Linked DNA regions of Homo sapiens: region 2 is linked to region 1. The links are contacts of gene promoters, found by promoter capture Hi-C in blood cells and fetal thymus (Javierre and others, 2016). All regions are on one chromosome and are shown on one strand. Each heading gives the region's core, a stretch centred on a gene start or on the middle of the fragment in contact. The rest is flanking DNA. Distances are from core to core; before and after follow the strand shown. Region 1 holds the start of CADM1 (cell adhesion molecule 1). Region 2 has its middle 170 kb from the start of LINC02703.

Region 1 (4,205 bases), core at 1,025-3,524:
AAGGCAACTTCTCACCGCGAGATAGTTACAAATATAGTACCGTTGCTACTACCCGGTGCCTTCAATGAGCAGTCTTGACAGGGGAGGCATAATCTAATCCTACTTCTGCTGCCAAGCGTCATTGCACGACTCCCATTTTTAGTCAAAAAGCAATATCCCCGACCACAGCTTTCCACCGCCCCCCGGCTTTTTTTTTTTTTTTTTTTTTTTTTTTTGCAGCCAATACAAGTCTATTGTTGCCTCTATTATGCGCCAGTTACCGAGCCTTTACTCACGCTCACGTTTAACTGACACTGGCGCTTTTTACAATGCAGCAGCACGAGGGATCTCTTTCAGGAACATTTTATTGAACCCATCCAGTCAGAGGCATCACCTGAAATGAAGTTGTAACCACACCGGCATCGGCTGAACCCAATTATCTCGTAACTCATAAATTAAGAATTCACAGAGGAAAAACACATAAACAACATCCGGAGACAGTGGCATGGAGGAAAAAAACCCTCAGCGCTGGAATTGACGCTGCTGCCAGACGCCCCCCAATAGGTTTCCCAAGCCGAGCTCCTTTGCAAGCCTATTTTGGGGGCAAGCAGCCAACCCGGCGTCCCCCAAATCTCAAGCTAGCACCCCCACACATCCCCCGTCTCCTACAGCGTGTCTCCTGCGGTGTTTACATAACTGTGTGTCCTCTAGCGTGTAAACAAAAGGCACAGCCCAAGCGGAGAGGCGCCCCTGAAGCAGCACCGTGGCCCCAACGCTGTGCCCGCCCGGGCCTGGGGCTCCGCAGGTGGGGGCTGAGCTCTCGGCGTCCTCCGCCACTTGTTGCTCCCGGGTCCTGCAGCTCTGGAGCTGCAAGGAGGGGCTTTGCAGGCTCAGAGCCCTGCTGCATCCCCTCCTGCATCGCCGCTCGCACCCCGCGGCCCCGTGCCACTCGGTCCCGGCGCCCGCCTGGAGCCTGCAGCAGGGGCCAGAGGACGCCGCGCGGCTGCCAAGCGCGGCGAGGTGGCGGGAAGGGAGGCTGGGTGCAGCACAGCCGGCCTCTCCGCTGAGGAAGAGCTCCGGCTCCCTTTTGTTAGCAAAAGCAAACACTGCCCTCTTCTTTCCCGACCGCGCCAACGCGCCCGGCACACGGGCAGCCACACATCGGGCTCCAGCCGAGTGCTCGGTGTCTTCAGGGAAGGCACCGGGCGTGCAGAGCCGCCCCTGGGCAAATTCCCAAGACTGCTCTTCACGCAGGGAGCGCGCGGAGGCCCGCAGGGTGCCCGCCTGGCCGCAGAGGCCGCGACGCCCCCTCCGCCACCCTCGGGCCGCCGAAAGAACGGGCAGCCGGGAAATCCCGTGTCCCCACTCGTGGCAGAGGACGCTGTGGGGCGGGCGGGCTGCGGGCTCCCGGCGCCTTCCCGCAGAGGCGGCGACAGCGGCCGCCCCCCCCGCGGGGCCGGGCCGGGGAACTTTCCCCGCCTGGAGCCGGGCCAAAAAGACCCGCAGCAGAGCCGAGGGGGCGGAGGGCTGCGAACGGCCGGAGGGAAACACGAGAGGCGTGCAGTTTGGGGACAGGGGAGAAAGGCAGAGCGCGTTGGGGGAAGGGGCAGGGGAGATCAGACAAGTCTGGGGATGTCCTGGGGACCGGGGAGAAATCACGCCGCGGGCGGCTGGGAGTCAGCCACCAGGAGGCTTCGGGGATGGAGAACTGGGGGGGCCCTCTGGAGAGGTGGGGGCGAATGGACAGCCCTGGGAGGTGGGAGGACCTGCAAGTTACGGGGAGAACGGCGAGTTTAGAAGGGTCCGGAAGGGTTGAGGTTGTCTTTGAACCATCCCCTTCCCCCATGCTTTACAGCCCCCGGGCCCCCCATTCTCACTCCACTCTGCACCCCGCGCCAAGCCGGGGAGAGAAGGTGTGGGTGCAGCCATCCCTGGGGACTCTCATTCACACTTAGCCGGGCAGGGGAGAAGGGGCTCACAGATGCCCTCAGCCCCTTCCCTCTCAGCCCTGAGTTTCCTCTCCACACTCCCTCCGCTTCGGATGTAGGAAGTGGGGGGAGGTTGTCATGGAAACGTTTCCCCCCTCTGTGGCCAAGGCTACTGGGGTGCCTTCGGAGATTTAGGGGCCAACCGGTCGGTGCCCACACCTACCTGTGGGGATCAGTGCCGCGGCGGAGAAGAGCAACAGCAGAAGCCGGAGCCGGAGCCCGGGAGGCGCCGCCGCCGCCGCTGCCGCCGCACACTGGGATCCGCTCGGCAGCACTACACTCGCCATGTCGGGCACCTGCCTCAGACTGGCGGCGTTGGCTGCCTCCGGAGCCCGAGCGGACAGCTAATGAGATGCTAATGACATGCGCTGGAGGCGGAGTCCGGGCAGACCAATCACAGCGCCGCGAGCCCAACCCGGCTCTCGGAGGGCCTCGCTCCCTCCCCCACCCCGCCCCCTGGCGCTGGCGTTCGGCGGCGCGCCCGCGCCACCTAGGGGCGGGGCCAAGGGGAGGGGCGTATGCAAATATGTTTATGTTAAAATTCGGGTTTTGCTTTCCCCGGATCAAGGAAAAAGTGTTCTCCCGGGCGCCTGGCGTGCAAGGACTCGGGCTCCAGGGGGCGGGTCTAGCTTCTTGTACACCTTTATTAGGAATGTTTATAGCAATCGCTGTATCAGACCGACGACTGGAGAATCTCCCTTAAGAGGGTCCTCTGTCCCGCACACCGAGTGCATCTGGCCTAGCGAACCAGACGTTGCAAATTTCCGTCACTCACCTTGCACCGAAGGAATAGATCTTTGGGAACGGGGGCTGTGCGGGAGTGGAGAGTAAGAAGGCAGGTCCCCGGATTGACAAAACAATCTGGGAGAAGTGCATGCGTGCTTTGCACGTCCGGCGGAGCGGGAGAGCCCGCTCAACAGCCTAGCGGTAGACTCGGGGATAGTTGGAGAAGGCAGCCGTAGAGTCGGGTTCTGAGATTTTCCAGTCGGTCTTTTTGCGGCAGAATCTCGGGAAAGGTAGATCGAGGAGGGTATGCTCAGGCTCCTCCGCTTGTCGAGGGTCTCCTCCCTGGTTTTAATATATAGGTGTGTGTTGAATATATGTGTGAAATATTTGTAATATTAGATATTTAAGATTACACAACAACGGAAAAAATTAGTCAAGGCTTCAGGTGAAGAGCGGGGGTGGTGGGAGTTGGGGAGAGGGAGTGTGGTGAAGGCAGGGTCTGCCGTGTTCCTCCTTCGGGGCTCAAACCCTCTCACTCCTCCTCTGCGCCCCCAGCCCTTCCTAAGGAAGCTGGGGACCAACAGGTGCTCCGAGCTTCCCCTGTCTCTGGGAGAGCCTCTCCTGCTAAAGCGACTTGCATCTCCGGACTCACTCTCCCTCCCCGAAATTCTCTTTGCTTTCTTTTCAGCCAGGCAGCCGGCTCTCTTGTTTGTCTGCTTTTTAATTACTTATTTTCTTCCCCTCTAGAAGATCGTGTGCGCTCTGACCCTCTGTTGCTCAAGCATCAAATTGAAGGACGAGCCATATTAAGTGTAAAGGTTTATAATAATTTAAGTATTCATAGAATGCAGAACAATAAGATGTAGGAAATACAATTTGCATAATAAATATCAATATCACAACAGCTAAAACAAACCATGACAAATTATCTGTGGCTAAATGACCAAGAGATTACTGAATGTAAATTGCTAAGTCTGAGCTATAGTCTAGAAGAGCTGCGCCAAATGACTTCCCCAGCCTTCTGTCCTCATCTTGCTATAAAATAAATAAATAATACATATCAAAAAGGAAGTCATGATCTGCCAACCCACCAAATGAGTTACACTTAAAAACAGCCTCCTATTATCCATTATGCATAAACTAATTTCGAGACTGCCCGGTCTTCACAGCCCTGGATATTCTGCTCTGTAATTACAGGCCCCGATGCATGAACTGCAGGCAGTCCTTCAGAAGTGGGGAAAGCTCCAACAGGAGAACAGCACTACAGGAGACAGGAAACCATTGCCACGTGGGTGCCAGGATAATGCCCAGTCTGCAAAGTCCTACCCGTTCTTACTACCTCTGGCAGTGAGGTACCTGGGTCGGACCAAATAGAGAGCAAAGTTCCACCAAAATTGGAATAAAAAAGTTAAGGCCAGCCGGGCACGCTGACTGATGCCTGTAATCCCAGCACTTTGGGAGGTTGAGGCAGATGGATCACCTGAGGTCAGGAGTTCGAGATCAACCTGGCCA
Region 2 (4,647 bases), core at 1,035-3,534, 580 kb after region 1:
AACCCTGTCAAGGTAACTCAGTAATTCCCCAACCTAGTCACATATCATAATATAGAGATGCCTGGGTTCCACCCTACAGATTCTGATCCTCAAGATCTGGGGCAGAGGCCAAGTGCCTGAATTTCTAACAAACTTCCCAGGCTATTACTGCACACCAGTGCTTGAGAATAGGTGCTATTACCTATTTACATGCTGCTTCCTGTTTCCTCCCTCCCCCAGCTGGAGAGTACCTCATGGGCAGGGATTGTGTCTGAGTCACCTCTTTGCCACCGATAATCAATGTGGTACTGGGCACAGTTTAAGTGCTCAATGCATTTGTCTTGAAAATGCTGAGTAGCATTGCACAGTTTCACTCTCCTTGCTGGCATTCTACAGGTAGAATATCAGGTTAACACACCTGCTACCAGTTCCCCAAGACTCAGCTCACGTAATGCCTTGGGGGTCTAGTTTGCAATATGAGCAACATGCCTGCAGCTGCAATGCACTCCCAATTACCCACTCGGGGATCCCTATCTGCTGGGTCCCCTGCCACCACCCCTCGCTCTGTCTGGTGTTGCCTGTTCAGGGAAAGCTGGCTGGATGTCACTTAACATAGTCAAACATAATCAGGAGAATGGAGCTCACAGACAGATTCAGCAGGACATTCTACAACAGCACAGCACTAACCACTGGACAATTCTTGGTGTGAGGTTGAACTCTCTCTTTCCTCCCCAGTCTGTATGGAATTGCCCTGTGAGCTATGTGGAGGCACAAAATGTTTGATGGATAACAACCCAAAAGATTGTTTCCTAAGGCATGTTCCTGGTAGTGTCAATATCCACAGGATGTTAATAAAGGATTCTGCAAAATTTGGACCAAACCAGGTTAAACAAAAACAGTTCTCCCTATTATAGGATTTTCAAGAGATGCAATATGCTAATCTGCACTCTGATTATCTATATATATTATGCAGCATTTCTCAAACTTTTCCTTGAATTCTTTTTTCCCCTGGAATTTGTTTTTCCTTACATTTTTTCACTGATGTTCCAAGGAATATGCTTTACAAAATCATGATTGGGTACAATTTTCCTTGCTCCAACCCCCAATGCCTATTTTGCAGATGAAGAAACTGAGAGTCAAGAAAGGAAAAAGCACTTGCCAAGACCTCATAGCTGGTTAGTGCTGGATGTAGGCACGGAACTAGGGGATGCTGAGATCACTTCTGCTCCCAGGATCTCACCTCAGGTTACCCTATGCCTGCAACGTGCTTCATTTAGCCAAGACCAGTGTCAGACTTTCAGCTTCTGGGACACATTCTCTCTTCTCCAGTGTCCAGCCTTTCACTACGCCCAAAGATGAGACACCATGAGTATCCACAGAGCACTCGGTCCTTCCTGAGGTCTACAGCTTGCTGAGCTGTCAACATTGCACTAATTCTAGCACACCCTTCTCCCTCTCTCCTTTCTTGCCCTCTCCTTCCCTTCTTTGCCTTATCTCTTTCCTTTTCTCTTCTCTCATCCTCCCAAGCTTACTACAGTTCCTGAGCCTCTCACAGCCCAGGGAGGAGCAGCACACAGGAGTCCTGGATTTCAAGGAACTGGAGGCTTTGAGAGGAGAAGAAATGTGTCTGAATCATTTAGCTAGCAAAATGACAGACCCGGGACTTGAATCCAGGGCTTCAGTCTTATTCTGCATCTTTGACTACACATCTCTGGTGCCAGAAAGCTCTATCTCTGCTCACTATGTGGTAAGTGAACACTGTGCCTGGCCAGGCCCCTTAATAGGCTGAGAAGCTCTTTGCCACCCAGCTCGAGCAGGGCTCGCTAACCTCACCCTCCAGGGATGGGGAAGCAGAGTGAGTGATACATTCCCCCTGGTGTGACTACATGTCTAATTCCTTCTCAGGGCCTTCTTAAGCCCTTGGCCTCAATTATGTTCCATGACCAGCAAGTGACACAAATTAATTATCTGCTTGGAAAAGAAGGGCTTTCTTTTATCTGTTTGAAAGTGGTCACCTTCTCATTTCAAGGATTGGCCTCATAAATTCCAAGGAAGGACAAAGAAGATGGCTACCAGCAGGAGGGAGACAGCAGAAGAAAGGAAAGAGATAAGGCAAAGTGAAGAGGGAGAGGGCAAGAGAGGAGAGAGGGAGTACAATGTGCAAGAGTTAGTGCAATGTTAAAGGCACTAGCATAGACAACCTTAGACACTGGCAGGGCAAAAAGGAGGGGTGCTTCAAACTATTAAGGGAGAATAGATGTCAAGAAAGGGCTTTCATATTTAAGCTGAGTATTAAATGGTTCAGAAAATATAGGCTTCATGAGGACAGGAACCATCTTTATTTGGTTCACCATTGTGTCACCTGTGTCCATCATAGTGGTTCGCATATAGTAGGTGCTCAATAAACATCCATCTATTCAATGAATTAATTAATCAGTAGACACTGGCCAAGCAAATGAAGCAGGAAAAGCCATTGAAGGAAGATGGCAGCATGATTAAAGATGATTAGAATGACCAGCAGTTCTCCACCACTGGCACATGGCATATGTGTTGAGGGATGGAGGGATGGTCAGGAACTGATCTGACTGGTCTGTGCTGCGTGTTCTTGATAATAATGAAATGACAGCAAATTCATTTTACATCTAAAATCCCATTTCATCCTCACAGTCACTCTGTGAAGGGTACAAGAAGGCTCAGAAGGCTTACAAGTTCCCAGAGCAGGAACCAGTACTTGATTATTAACCTAGATCCTGTGATCTTTCTCTAGTATCTGCTTGGGGATGACCCCTAGCCCTCAGTACCTTTCCTCCTCTGAGCATCCTCCAGGCTGGGTTCAGAGCACAGACATGTGTTTTCATAACAATAAGTGGCAAATTTTCTTTAAAAATATTATCTGATTCATTCCACAGGCAAATAGGTGATCATGTTTTCATCATACATTCTTTCCAACTCCCTGTGCCTCTGCAGCTACCCTCATTCAACTAAGGTGGGGGTTATCTAAGGGTGGCTACAGAGAAGTGGGTGAGGGCTTTATGCTGTTTCTCTTGTTCCAGGCTAAAGGGAAAGAGAGAGAAATGCTTAAGATAAGCTTATAGACAGACATGGGCTCCAAGAGCTGGGCACACACCAAAGCACATTCTACCAGGAAGTATTTTAAGGACAGGGTGCAAAGGCATTAAGGGCCAATCCCTGGCCAACAGATACCTGCACCCAAGTGATGCAGGAGGCCAGGCAGGGCCAGGAGAGCGAATGGTGTGGGAATAAATTGTTCTTCATGCATGCTTCCTGCTAAGGCCATGGGACGTGGTGATACAAAGGTGATTTAAAGCCAGACAAACCTACTTTTAAATCCTGGATCCGCCATGGGCTAGTTAGATGAACTCAGCTGTTATATCAAATGCATGTAAAGGTTAATAAGGGTCACATACAGAATCTCATGTGAACCCCATAGTACTGGTTGATAGTATGGGGGTAAGTGTTTGTTATAAACCCCATTTTTAGATGAGCAAACTAAGGATCAGAGAGTAATTTGGCCAAAGTTACCCTGAAAGCAATAGATCTAAGACCTCTATGCTCAAAATCCCATGACCTGTCACTATGCTACACTGAGCCAGAGAGGCCAAAGCCCCTGAGCAGCAGCCATGAAGAATCTTAGCAAGAACCAGAAATCCAAAAGCCAGGGTACAGGTTTTAGATCCTCAAAGTCTTGTGCTAAGGGGCCTAAGGAAGGGAAAACTGAGCCTCATTAACATAGAGGTGGGGACCCCAGGACTTCTGGGATGCCTTCCCAGCTTCCTGGGTCCCCTGCCCACTGCCCTTCTCTCCCAAGCTGCTGCCTAATTACAGAGCTGTAAATGCAAATTATTCTAATAACTGGTGCTAATTTATACACATTTACATATAATTTGCAATTCATTTGCTGTCCACTTGTAGTCAAACTTCACTAATCCAGACCAAAGTGGGGAAGCCTACTCTGAAATGAAGAGTCTAGGTTATAGAATAATTCAATAGCTTATCACAGTTGAGTTTTATCTTAAGCAGGAAAGCCTGCTTTAAAATCAAACATGCAAGGTAAAAATAGGTATTGCCAAAATTCTCCTTGAAAATCTACAAGAGCTGGGTTCTCAGAAGCTCAAAAGCCAAAAAATTAATTCCTTTTATTTCTCTTTGATTTTGAGCTGTGGAAGAGAGGACAATAGGTAAATAAAAGGCTCTCTCCCTCTTTCTCTGTCTGACTTTCTATGATGAAATTCAGGAAGTTGAAGTTCATTTATGTGATGCGACTCCACTGACTCAGTTTGAACTAGTAAAATCTTCCTAGTGCAAAATTTTCCATCCTTCAAAAAATGTAGATTGGAATTAGTTAACTGAAGTATGAGAAACCATACAGTAAATTGGGCTTAGATATCTGTGGGTCGCGTAATCAATGAACACAATTCAGGGAGTGCAAATGTGACAACTGGGTTTGTGAGGTGTACACTGGATGGTGGCGTTGAAGAAAGAGGTATTATGTTTAAAAAATAACAAATACACACACACATGTGTATATTGTCTAGAAGTGAATCCTGAGTAGGGATTCTTGCCCAAGTGATTTATTGAGGAAGATTGATTGGAGGATGTACTCTTAGGAGTGAGGGGGAAGGAGAAGGCAGGAGAGATGGGGAGCTA

What was found. The method cuts DNA at HindIII sites, captures the fragments that hold promoters and counts their contacts. A CHiCAGO score of 5 or more calls a contact.
Region 2: a fragment that was not itself captured here is called in contact with the fragment with the promoter of CADM1 in region 1 in 1 of 17 cell types (M0 macrophages); the score reaches 5.2 in M0 macrophages.

What each region holds. Positions count from the first base shown.
Region 1 is chr11:115,502,141-115,506,345 of GRCh38, forward strand. CADM1 (cell adhesion molecule 1) reads right to left here and starts at 2,275. Exons shown (of 12, transcript NM_001301043.2): 1 at 2,131-2,275. The coding sequence starts at 2,254. RefSeq lists a silencer at 2,301-2,460. The HindIII fragment of the contact is 6,395 bases long and covers 1-4,205 here.
Region 2 is chr11:116,086,423-116,091,069 of GRCh38, forward strand. No RefSeq gene overlaps it. Among named protein-coding and RNA genes, the nearest start is that of LINC02703, 170 kb to the left of the region's middle. The HindIII fragment of the contact is 1,561 bases long and covers 1,505-3,065 here.